Linked DNA regions of Homo sapiens: region 2 is linked to region 1. The links are contacts of gene promoters, found by promoter capture Hi-C in blood cells and fetal thymus (Javierre and others, 2016). All regions are on one chromosome and are shown on one strand. The core of a region is centred on a gene start or on the middle of the fragment in contact, and the rest is flanking DNA. Distances in the headings are between cores, read along the strand shown. Region 1 holds the start of TPR (translocated promoter region, nuclear basket protein). Region 2 holds the start of ARPC5 (actin related protein 2/3 complex subunit 5).

Region 1 (5,668 bases), core at 2,206-4,705:
TTTTGTTTTAATATTATTTACTGCTTTCCAGACTTACTGATCCAGAGTATATAAATACACACACACGCGCGCACACATTAACTGTATACCACAGGAAGGTATCTGATGTATCTGTAGGTTCATCCCTTTTTCTCTTCTCCCAGATCTCGTAAAAGCTGTATTCAGTCATTTTTCTCAAATTCCTCGGCACTACTACTAAACAGATCTTTTTATTATGGCTAGGCAAAACTACATAGATAATGAACCAGATCTAGCTATATATGCTCCATCACACATGTATGCATATACATTACGTTTTTAAAATGAGGTGTACCAAAAGTAGCTGAAAAAAGTTATAACCTAAATAGTTGATGGTCATGGACCCATTAAGAAGGAAAGCTGCAATTTTAATCATTTGATTATGAACTTCCTGTGTTCCTTCTCCATCAATCAAATTAAAATTGAACTATATTAAGTATCAATTAATTATACCAGCCAGACACAGTGGCAATCCCAGCACTTTGGGACGCCGAGGCGGGAGAATCGCTCGAGGCCAGGAGTTCAAGACCAGCCTGGCCAACATGGCGAACCACTGTATCTACTAAAAATACAAAAATTAGCTGGGCCTGGTGGTACATGCCTGTAATTCCAGCTACTCAGGAGGCTGAGGCGCAAGAATCGCTTGAACCCAAGAGGCAGAGGTTGCAGAGAGCCAAGATTGCACCACTGCATTCCAGCCTGGGCAACACAGTGAGACTCTGTCTCCAAAAAAAAAGGAAAAAAAAAATTAATTACACCTTTATAGAGATCTTTCCTAATGTTCTGATGTTTGCTTTCTTAAAGCAGAAGCAGTCTACAGCCAGACCACCCTGAAGGCACCCCATCTCGTCTGATCTCGGAAGCTAAGCAGGGTGGGGCCTGGTCAGAACTTGGATGGGAAAAGCAAAGCACAAGACATATCATCCTCCTAAGAAATGTCAGGATCTTTAACATCTTGTGAACTTTCTAAAACTTAATGATGTAAGAAAAGTAAGAAAGAGATTAGCTATCAATCTTTTATAGGAATTAGGCCTTAAAGGGGAAATATCCTGAGATTCATAGATATTTATAAAAATTATTAAAAAATGGAGTTAAAACATAAATATAATGAAATCAATAGGCTTCGATTCTTCAACATAAAAACAAGCCACTCTCTACTTCTTTAGTTGCATAATGCTTTCACCTTTTTAAAAAGATTTCAAGAACTCTTATCTCATTTGATTTACAAAGCTGTCTAGGTAGACAGACATGTGGGTCTAACCATTTTATAAACAATAATCAGATACTGTTAAGATTTACATGTGGCAAAAGCAATTTTAATAGCAAAATCAGAATAAGAATCCAGACCTCCTGACCATTAAATTCTGTGTTCTCACAAAATCTTTACCACTAAGTGAAAAATCAAAATATCACCATAATAAAAACCAATGATGCTTAATCAATATTTTCATGTTTAGTAAGCAAATGTTTCCAAAGTATATAAAGGAGTCTCTGAAGATTTCGATACTCCGAGAATACTTACAAAGATGAATTAAATACTTACTGAGTTTCTCTAGCTCAAGCCGCAAGCTTTGACACTCTCGGGTTTCATTCACAAGTCTCTCCTGACTGTGGGACAACCTCTTTTCTATTTCAAAATACTGTTGTTCTACAGCAGACAAGCAAAAAACAAAAAACAAAATCAAACACATGTACATACATTGTGAATACTGTTATTTATTTCTAATAACCTTGATTTTAAAACTTAAGATACAGTATTAGAATTGTGCTCCACATAAGAGAATCTGAGTAAAGATAAATAGACTGAGCACTGAAAAGGACTTAAAGCATTTCCAAACGACTTACATGACAAAAAATAAAAAATAAAAATAAGGCCTAAAAGGGGCTTTACAAATCAATGTCTTCAAGGCAGGTAACCTCATTTATCTTAGTATTTTCTCCAGACATCAGTAAACTGCTTAATAAATAAAGTATTTATTACACGAGAAAAAATTGTTTAGACAAAAAAAAACTCCTTTGTTTTAAAAGACTTCTTTTATAGTAGTCAAGATATTACCTGAAAGCATAAAACTACTAAATATATGTAAAAGTAAATGTGTAAACTTTCCAAGGGAAGGGATTGAATATCATGTTCAGCATAGTATCAGGAACATGTAAGACATTCAATATTTATGGTGCAAATTAATAAATAGAATGCAATGTACTATACTCAGCTCTGGGATCAGAGAACTAATTTTCAAGGTCAATTCTGCTTGACAGTTACACTTTTTTTGAAGTAAAAACTTGTTCAGAATTTCCAGTCAACTTAGCAAGAACAGTATGAACCTCCCCAAACAAATGGTAAACCAAAACACATTAACGGGAAGTTTGTATTTTACTAATGGTAATGACTATATTCTTCATATTTTTTTCAAGGATGTTCAAGCCATTATTGTCAGTAACTTTCTTACTTAAAGGCCTACTTTAGGTAATTACAAGAAAATTTTAATGTTTTCTATCAAACTCCAACTTTTTAAGAGAAATCAAGATATATTAAATTTATGTACTGCACATTCACTGTGTTTCCAGCGCTCTTATGCACCTAATATTCATTTTTGTAAACATCTGATTCGTTCTGGAGCCACGGGACGACGCACACACTAAGAACAAGTGCACAGAGTGGTCAATTTGGCAAAGGCCTAGAATGCAGGTGCCTAGAAAATAGGGCGGAGCCACTATCAGTTGAAGTGCAACAAAACATATAAGGTACTCTAGGCTTAGAGAGATGGGTTCGCAGACTCTATCAAGTCTGTTTCCCGTCTGCCGGACGAAGGAAAATAAGCGTCCCTGTATGAGCCTACCCTAACTACAAAGAAAATGCTACTGAACTTAGATTCAGATTTTTTTTTCAAAGGCTTCTTATCAAACTGTAAGGAGCAGGAAAGCGAAGGCTCAGGATATCCACAGAGCCCAGGAAGTGAGGTTAACAGAGCGGTACCCAGTGCCAACTTGATGGGGGAAGACCAGACCCAAAGGGCGGGAGTCGAGCCCAAAACCAAGGACGGAAAGAGCATCTCACTTACCGCTCTCCACCTTAAATTTCTCATGCCGCCCCTTCAGGCCATCGATCTCGGATTGCTGATCAGCAAGGAACTTTTCAAGTTTGTTCTGGACAGACTTGGGCAGCTTGTTCAGCTCCGTGCGCTCCAGGACTTGCTGCAACACCGCCGCCATGTCGGTGGGGCCAGGGACCCCAGTGGCAGCGGCCGACGGGGTAGAAGCGGAGAAGAAAGGCGAAGACCAGCAGGACCCAGACGCCTGGGCCGCCGCCTCTATCACCTCGCTCGGTGGCTCGCGCGCGCCCGCCCGCCGGAGACTCCCGCGGCGGGACCCTGGGAAATCGAGTCCACCCTCAGCGGCAGCGTTTCAGCAACAGCACCTCACCGCCCGCGACCGAAGTGCGCGCGCAGCCGTTGGAAGCTACGAACCCTGGGAACCCGAGCTCAGAGGCTATCCCTGATCCTCTTGCGCACCCAATTTTCCGGCTTCCAGCTCCACCCACTTCAGGCCTTGTAGGGCTCTGGGAAATGTAGTGTTTTTCTCATTCTTTTCCGGGAGCCCAATGCTGCACCGCCCTCTCAGCTTCCGTTTTTCTCCCCGCTCCCCTGGCTCTCCTATCTCGGCCCCGTAACCGCTGTCCGCACGGTGGCGCCACATACGTACTCGTCACCCCTTGGCCCTCCCTGAAGAGCTGGTGACCTTACCGTCAAAGCCCCGGGATGCCATGGATCGTCCTCGTTGGCGGCTTCTGGACACTGAGCCACTAGAGGGCATCGGTCCCGGTAGGGCCGGACGGCAGGCTCCGGGATACCGCCACGCTCTCTATGGCGCCCAGAAGGGGGCGGGGTGGCGACCGCAGTCGCTTTGGCTGAGGCTCTGCGGGGAAGGGAGGGGGGGCTTTTACGTCATCAATCTGCGCCACCTGACTCCCAAGTCCCTGGCTTTGGAGTGGGAAGTGAGGTGTGGGAAGTAGGTCGCTTTCTGATGAATTCAGTGGCAGTGAATTGAGACCGGAGGGAATCTGGCCCCTAGAGGCTGGTACTTGGGCCCGAAACCCCCATCTCCGGCGGAGAGACCGTCCGAGGTAATTGTCTGCCACGAGTGCACATTCTGAAAACAGGTAAGTCAGCCTAAGTGTAGTGTGTGTGTGTGTGTGTGTGTGTGTGTGCTCTCTTTTCAAGAGAAAAAGGAAGGGACAGTGTTGGAACCATATGGACAGTCACTCCGGCACACACTTCTGACGAACTTACCTTGTGTGAAACGGCGTACCTAAATGGTTTTTGGTGGTGGGGAGGTGGCACTGAGTGATTCAGTACCCGGGAATTTAAGGACCCGGGTTAATTCTTCAGGAGGAGAATTAAAAGAAACCGGTAGCACTTTGAGTGTAGCCTATGTTTTAAATTTTTCGTTGCAGAAACGGTTACCTAACATTATATTGTTTTTAAAATTGAAAACTGTTGTAACTGAAGTTTTTAAACACATTGTTAATTTCTACAGTAACAGAACTTGTATGGTTCCAGATCATAATTCTGTAGTTTTAAAGCTCAATCCGTAGATTGTTTCGTGTTTACTCTTATGAAAGAATTTGTTAAATTATTCATTGTAAATAATGCATTCCCAGTGTCGTCTCTCTGCAGTTCCCACAGTCGTGGGCCTTCTGTGAATTGGTGATTTAGTTCTTATATGAAATTTATTCTTTTTCTCTAGTTCTTACTTTTGAATCATGTTGTGAAGCCGTCTAAGAAATATAAATGGAAGCATTTTATGATATTTTGTAATAACTAAGGAAAAATAAATCAACAGCGGAGCTTAAGGTTGATTTTTCCCCAAAAATATTTTTTAGATAAGCATTGTAATTAAAGTTGCTGGTATATGAAGTATTATGCTATGTCCTAAGCCCACAGTATTATCATACTGTTGATCTGTCATTTGGGAAATGTAGATTTTTCTGTACTTAGATTCACAGAATCCTAAAATTAGATAGGTTTTCAGATCTGCTAGGATTCAAATGCTTTATTTTATAGATTAGGAAACCAGAGCCCAGAAAGGTTGAGTTGTGTCAGTCACAGTGCTTGGACCACAAAGGCTTTGGCTGATATACAACATTTCTGGAAAATTATGACCCTATAAGGCAAAATACAGTTGTCCCTTGGTATCCGTGGGGCATTGGTTCCAGGACCCTCTCACCTGCCCACCCCATGGATATGAAATCCATGGATGCTCCAGTTCCTTATATTAAATGGTGTAGCATTTGCATATCTTAAATCATCTCTAAGTTACTTATAATACCTAATACAATGTAAATGCTATAGTTGTTATATTATATTGTTTAGGGAATAGTGACAAGAAAAAACATCTTTAATGATACAGATGTAATCATGCTTTAAAAAAATAATTTTTCAATCTGTGGTTGGTTGAATACATGGAAGTGGAAACCACAGATGTGGAAAGCTGACTATATACATTTTTAGTACTGCCTTTTATAAAGTATGGTTGACTACATTTAAAAATTTTGAAAGAGCACTAAAGAAAAATTTATCTGACATTCAATCAGATTTCATAATTGAATAGATTTTCATCTCCCTATTACATTCAGTTTCTTACACATTAA
Region 2 (5,668 bases), core at 1,084-3,583, 2.7 Mb before region 1:
CCTAGAGTGGTGTTAAAGAAATCCTAAAATATATATCAGAATTATTAGTCCCCCAAATGAAATAACCTATTATCAACCAAAATATGTCTTTTCCTGTGATTCTAATTGAAAAAATAAAGACCAAACTTTTGCTAGAACCATATTCTGTATTATCTGAAATGCTGGTAGAACATGCTGGCAGATTAGCAATCTGAATGATACACATTAGCAATCTCTCAATATTGATGAAAAGAGGCATCACAGAAGATGTAATAATTCATATGTCCCTTAGGTGGCAGCTTAATTTTTTGCTTTAGATATTTTCTCTCATATTTCACAAAGGTTATTCAAACTGTGTTAGACCATACCTATTAAATTCAGGCTCTCTTTGAAAGCACTAGTGAGTTAGCAAGCATGAGAAACAGAAGGCCAATCAGACTGTCAGAATGTACAAACATTCCCCTAAAAGGAAAACCACAGAGTTCACTTGTTCCTCCAACTCTAGTACCCCACCACTAGGGCTGTCTTTCCTGGCTGTATGTAACGGTAAGAAGAGACAGTATCTTTATATTTTAAGATGAACTGATCAAAAAGCAGATCCACTGATATGGATACAGCAGTACCATTTAAAAGTCACCACAAATTACCTAAAATACACTGGGGTTTCATAAAACACCATCTATCCATCACAAATAATGTTTTTAGGAAGCATGTTCACCATTTATTTTCTAAAGAAAAAGTTCTTACACAAAATCTCTGGTTGACAAGCTGTTATTTTCAAGGCTGCAGGGATTTCTAGAGAAGCATGCCTGATGTAGATTAGCTCATTTTTTATAACTCCAAGCACTTAAGTATTTAAATAATGCAAAAGAGCAACAGCTAATTAATTGTGAAAGTTGTGGCAAAGCACTATCTATATATTGATAAATGTCTAATGCTCTATTTAGGTGCCTTTAAAAAAGGATATTGTTGCCATTAAATATTTTCACTCTCATATTTCCCCACTATAACAGGACATTGTTGAGAGTCTTCCTTATGAATACACCCAAGAATTAGAAATGCATACAAATTCAGTGTCTGAGATTTTCTAAAACTACAGCTTCGGTTTTTTTGCAACATTTACATTTTTCTAAAAAAGATGTAATGCAAATGCGAAGCCAAAGTTATGAATATTCAAATATGCAAAAACAGAAACCGGGAACTGACTGCCATATTTTAACTAAAATGGAAACAATTTTAGGATTACAAAAATGATTCTGCTTTATACGAATGACTCATCTTCTATCTTATTCATTGGGGTTTATTTTAAATATTTCCAAGGATTCTCCACACGCATTCCCCGTTGTTTTTTCTATTGTCCTTTTCTTAGCAGGTAAAAGGCTCCAAGCTTCCTTCTAGGAGTTTTGTATTTTTTGTATTCATTCCCCTCCCCCAGTTAACAAATTCTGTACAATGTATATTTTGCCAAATCCCCTTCTTCTTCTTCTTTTTTTTTTTTTTTTAAAAAGGCCAATGGGCTGAAAGCACAGGGACCCTCAATTTTCGAACAGTCCCATCTCCCCCCGCCCCCCGGTAAGGAATAAACTACCTTAACGCTACCAATAACAAAAACACAACAAAAAACAAAACCACTAAGGAAAGATGCAGGTTCCCCACAATCAGAAATTTCTGGAGCTAATGTGACCCCAGGAAATCAGAGTTCTAGGAAGAAAAACTAAGGCGCTCGGCACCAGCCTTCCCCACCAGCCGGGGCCGCCTTCCCCAGCGCCGCGAGGGCGCGGCCGGCGGGACCAGTTCCCGAGGCAGGCAGGCACTCGGGTGCAACCTGAGGAATCTGGGGGCGTGGAAGGCGCGCGGGGGAGGGCAGGCTTCCAAGAGTGGGACCCTCGCGTCTCCTGCCGACTGGGTAGGAAACGGGGGCTTCCCCCTTGCCCTCTCAGAGCGGGCGATCCCAAAGAGACAGGTTAAGCCGCAGGTTGAGAGGGCAGCTCCGCGCCGGTGCCCCGCGGATCCTGCAGGCTCCCGGGTCCCAGGAGAAGGGCGGGCTGGGCTGGGCTGGGGTGGGGAGGGCGGTGAATGCAAGGATATTGCCGCAGGCAGGAGTCCACCTCGCCCTCGTCGGGCCCGGCCTGGCCGTCGCCCCCATCTTCTTCGTCCACGAACTTGTTCTCGTCATATTCATCCACGTCCACCTTCCGGAAGCGGGCCGACGACACTGTGTTCTTCGACATCCCAATCCCGACCAGCGGCAAAGGCCTCTTCTTGGCGCTGCCTCTACCTCAGCAAGCCCAGCCCAGCAACCCACTACCCGGCGCCTGATTCACTTCCCTCTTCCGCTCTGAGGCGTCGCCGACTGCCGCGGCTCGGACCGTTCTGGGCCTGCGCGCTAGCCCCGTTTCTTCCTCCTCAGGTTCGCGCTCCCTTGGCGCCTCCCACGCTGCCCCTGCTCTTCCACGGAGAGCGCGCGCGAGGGAAGGAGCGCGCAGGACACAGCGCGCAGGCGCGGGCTCTCCGCAGGCAAGGGGCGGGGCTGGGCGAAGGAGGCGGGGGCGAGAGGGAGGGCCAAAAGCTGGACCGCGGGCAGAGGTAAGAAGCGATTGGTCGTCCGATTGCGTCACGTGATTCTCGGTGGGGGGGTTCCCATAGAAACGCTTTTCTGCGGTCCAGTCTAGGGGGTCTCAGATTGGCGGGGATGGGCAGCAGCGGCAGGTGGCCTTGGCTTTTGCTGCAGCCGTCAACGACCTATCATCGGGGTCCTGCGTAAGGTCCGGCTGGCTGGGACTTGGCTGTGGGTGGGATGGACTGGCTGCCGGACCGAGTGCCCTGCAGTTGGTAGGAGTATGAGGCAGAGTGATGCACACCCGGGCGCCCAGCATCGTTCTAATTGCCGGAGACATTGCCTCAGACTGTGCGCTGCTAGAGGCTGCGTTCCTGAGCAGGAAGCCCGTTTCCTGGGATTGGAACTACCCTTCTTGGCCAGCGGGAAGTCCCCAAGGACGGAGTCGAAAGGTCAAATCTTATCTGTCAGTGCTGTGTGACAGCATCGCAACGGGATCTGCAGAACCTGAACTCGGTATCAAATCTATTGGGAGGGAGGGGAACGTGTCCGGGCAGGCGCTGGGGTCGGGTGGCAAAACTGGGGTGAATTTGTAGAATTTGGGAAAGGGTCATTGACATCTTAAAATAGGTGGTCGTTTGGAGCAAGAATGCTCGAAAGGGGTGAGGGTAGGTTAGGCTCTCTAGTGCTGGGGGAAAACAAAATGTGGAAGGATTGGTGGAAACCAGACCTTTAAGATTTATATTATGATTTGAGATTTATATGATTCCATCTAGGCCAGATTTAAAAAAATATTTGACATCCCCATTTCTGGAATGTAGGAGATAAAGGCACTAAGACGAAGGAAATGGTAGTTGTGCTGTGTGTATTACACTGAAGAACAAATATTTGCAGGATAAAATTAATTTGGACATTTGGCTGGACACTGCTCGGTATGGGTCCAGTTTAGTTGGACCTCGAGCAGAAGACTGGCTGTTGCCCTGTTGTGTACCACAATCTTTGGTTTCCAGTGCTGTGTTGAAAAGAGCACTAGGCTTAGAATCAGAAAACTCAGGCTTAAGTGTTGACTCTTCCACTCATAATGTTTGAACGAGACATGTCACTTAAAATTCTGTCTCAGATTCCTCATCACTGAAATGGAGCTAATAATGTGCACTTTACAAGATTGTTCTTAGGATTATATATCACGAAAGTGTTTCCAAGCTCTAAAATTCTACATAAATGTAAAATGCATGTTGCTTGTACCATTGGTTTTGGGACTAGTCTTATAAATTTCTTAATGATATATGGTGTTTTATCTCCTTCCTAGAAGAGATGGAAAGATTCTGAAGGGCAGAAACAGTTTTTCTTTTGTATCTTCCTTCCATATGACAAAAAGCTAAGCATGCAGAAGGGACTCGATACATGCTTGATGAATGAATGAAATGTGAAAGACCGTACAGTTTGAGAATCATACTGAGAATAATAAATCAGAAGAGGGAGAGAGATCTCAAAATTAAATATTTGTTGGATATATACATGTAAATACATATGTCCAGTCTTCTTTAAGTTCAAAAAAATACATATATAATGTGTGTATATTTATCTATGCAGTATATTATATATAAATAGAGAGTGGGAGAGAGACCTCGAGAATGGAATACATCCCTTTTTCTTGGGAAGAAGCAATGTGGTGTTTTTCTGTTCCCAATTAAACCACTCTTCTATAAGTATATCATTTAGGTGATAGAAGTAACATTGTTTAAATTAACATTCAAGTTATGAACACACACTGGTAAAAATTCTCTTAGGAATGCCTTAAGACAGCAAAGGAAAAATTTTTACCTGTTGGCAATATTTATTTTAAAAAGCCATATACCAAAGTATAAAATCATTACTATGGTGAATGGCGTTATATAACTTAGAATAAAGATTTTACAATTTTTTTTCAGTTTCAGTCTTTGCTAACTTTAGTAGATGCTAATCAGTATACTTTAGCTGTTAAAGGTGATTGTACTTTTTCTTCTTTTAAATCAAGATTTTTCTTTGAAGAGAAAATCGAACATTAGAGGCACTATTGACAGCAAATGGAAACAGGGATTCAAGAGCTAATATATCTCTTCTCTTACATTTCTATTCTTTTGTATTGCCTTATTTAGGAAATTTTTTATTTTCTTATTTGAGAACTATGAAAGAATCCCAGAGTAGAAATCAGCTTAAGGGAATAGTGAAAGAAATTTAAATAATCGATTGCTCAAGGGTATAATTATTTTGATTGCTCAGAATTTTGCTCTATATGTTTAATGTGTTAAATGTAATTAACTGCCAGCCAAATAATGCTTATTGCATTTAAGATGTGAAAAATGTCCTTTTCTAATGCAGTATTTTTTATTGTCTCACAATGATCTAAGTGCCTAGTACATAATAGGTACTCAACGTGTTTCTAGTCAATGATTTAATGATCTGACAAGTTAATTTTGGACGAACATTCAGAAATTGAGTATTTTTTAGTGGGCACATAAATTACTTCTCTACCTTATTAGGTAGTTAAATCTTTATAAAGCTTTAAGAGAAATTTTTGTGTGTATGTGGAGAAATCTGTCTTTAATTATCTTTTAATTAGAAAACTCATTATTTCACTTCCTTGCAAATTCTAAATTTTTAATGTTAATCATGATACTTAATTCATCTTAGGTAATATTATTTTCCTTATTTTAATTTTTCAAATGAGTGCTTACCCTGATATAAAAGATTTATAAGGTTTTAAGACATTTTACTTGTTGTGCAAATAACCTGGTTTGGTTCAATACTGAAGCAGGACCGAATCTGAATTTTCTCAAGGTTAATGCTGTATATGTAGTTCCTTATTTTCTGTGATGATGCAAACAGCCAAGGATCTTTTCAGTTAGAAGGGACTTTAGTAAGGCTATAATAGGTCTTTCTTTTCAGACATTTTAAACCAAGGATTCTAACATGTGCTTCTCTTCTCCAAACTTGCCACTAAATACTTAAACAACAAAGACATTGAATCCTGGCTGGGCGTGGTGGCTCATGCCTGTAATCCCAGCACTTTGGGAAGCCAAGACGGGCAGATCACTTGAGGTGAGGAGTTCAAGACCAGCCTAGCCAACATGGGGAAACCCTGTCTCTACT

The links. Contacts are between HindIII fragments. The CHiCAGO score rates a contact against its expected background, and 5 or more counts as called.
Region 2: a contact is called between the fragment with the promoter of ARPC5 here and the fragment with the promoter of TPR in region 1, in 1 of 17 cell types (naive CD8 T cells). The highest score is 7.8, in naive CD8 T cells.

The regions. Positions count from the first base shown.
Region 1 is chr1:186,371,798-186,377,465 of GRCh38, forward strand. It overlaps TPR (translocated promoter region, nuclear basket protein), which reads right to left and starts at 3,456. Exons shown (of 51, transcript NM_003292.3): 1 at 3,081-3,456; 2 at 1,562-1,666. The coding sequence starts at 3,231. ODR4 (odr-4 GPCR localization factor homolog) reads left to right here and starts at 4,041. Exons shown (of 14, transcript NM_017847.6): 1 at 4,041-4,177. RefSeq lists a silencer at 2,591-2,640 and enhancers at 3,201-3,500, 3,661-3,710, 3,881-4,070. The HindIII fragment of the contact is 6,872 bases long and covers 1,586-5,668 here.
Region 2 is chr1:183,633,450-183,639,117 of GRCh38, forward strand. It overlaps ARPC5 (actin related protein 2/3 complex subunit 5), which reads right to left and starts at 2,334. Exons shown (of 4, transcript NM_005717.4): 1 at 2,068-2,334. The coding sequence starts at 2,210. It also overlaps a transcript of RGL1 not described here. RefSeq lists enhancers at 1,530-2,030, 2,028-2,307 and silencers at 1,618-1,836, 1,788-1,847, 1,928-1,977, 2,458-2,617. The HindIII fragment of the contact is 3,712 bases long and covers 1,365-5,076 here.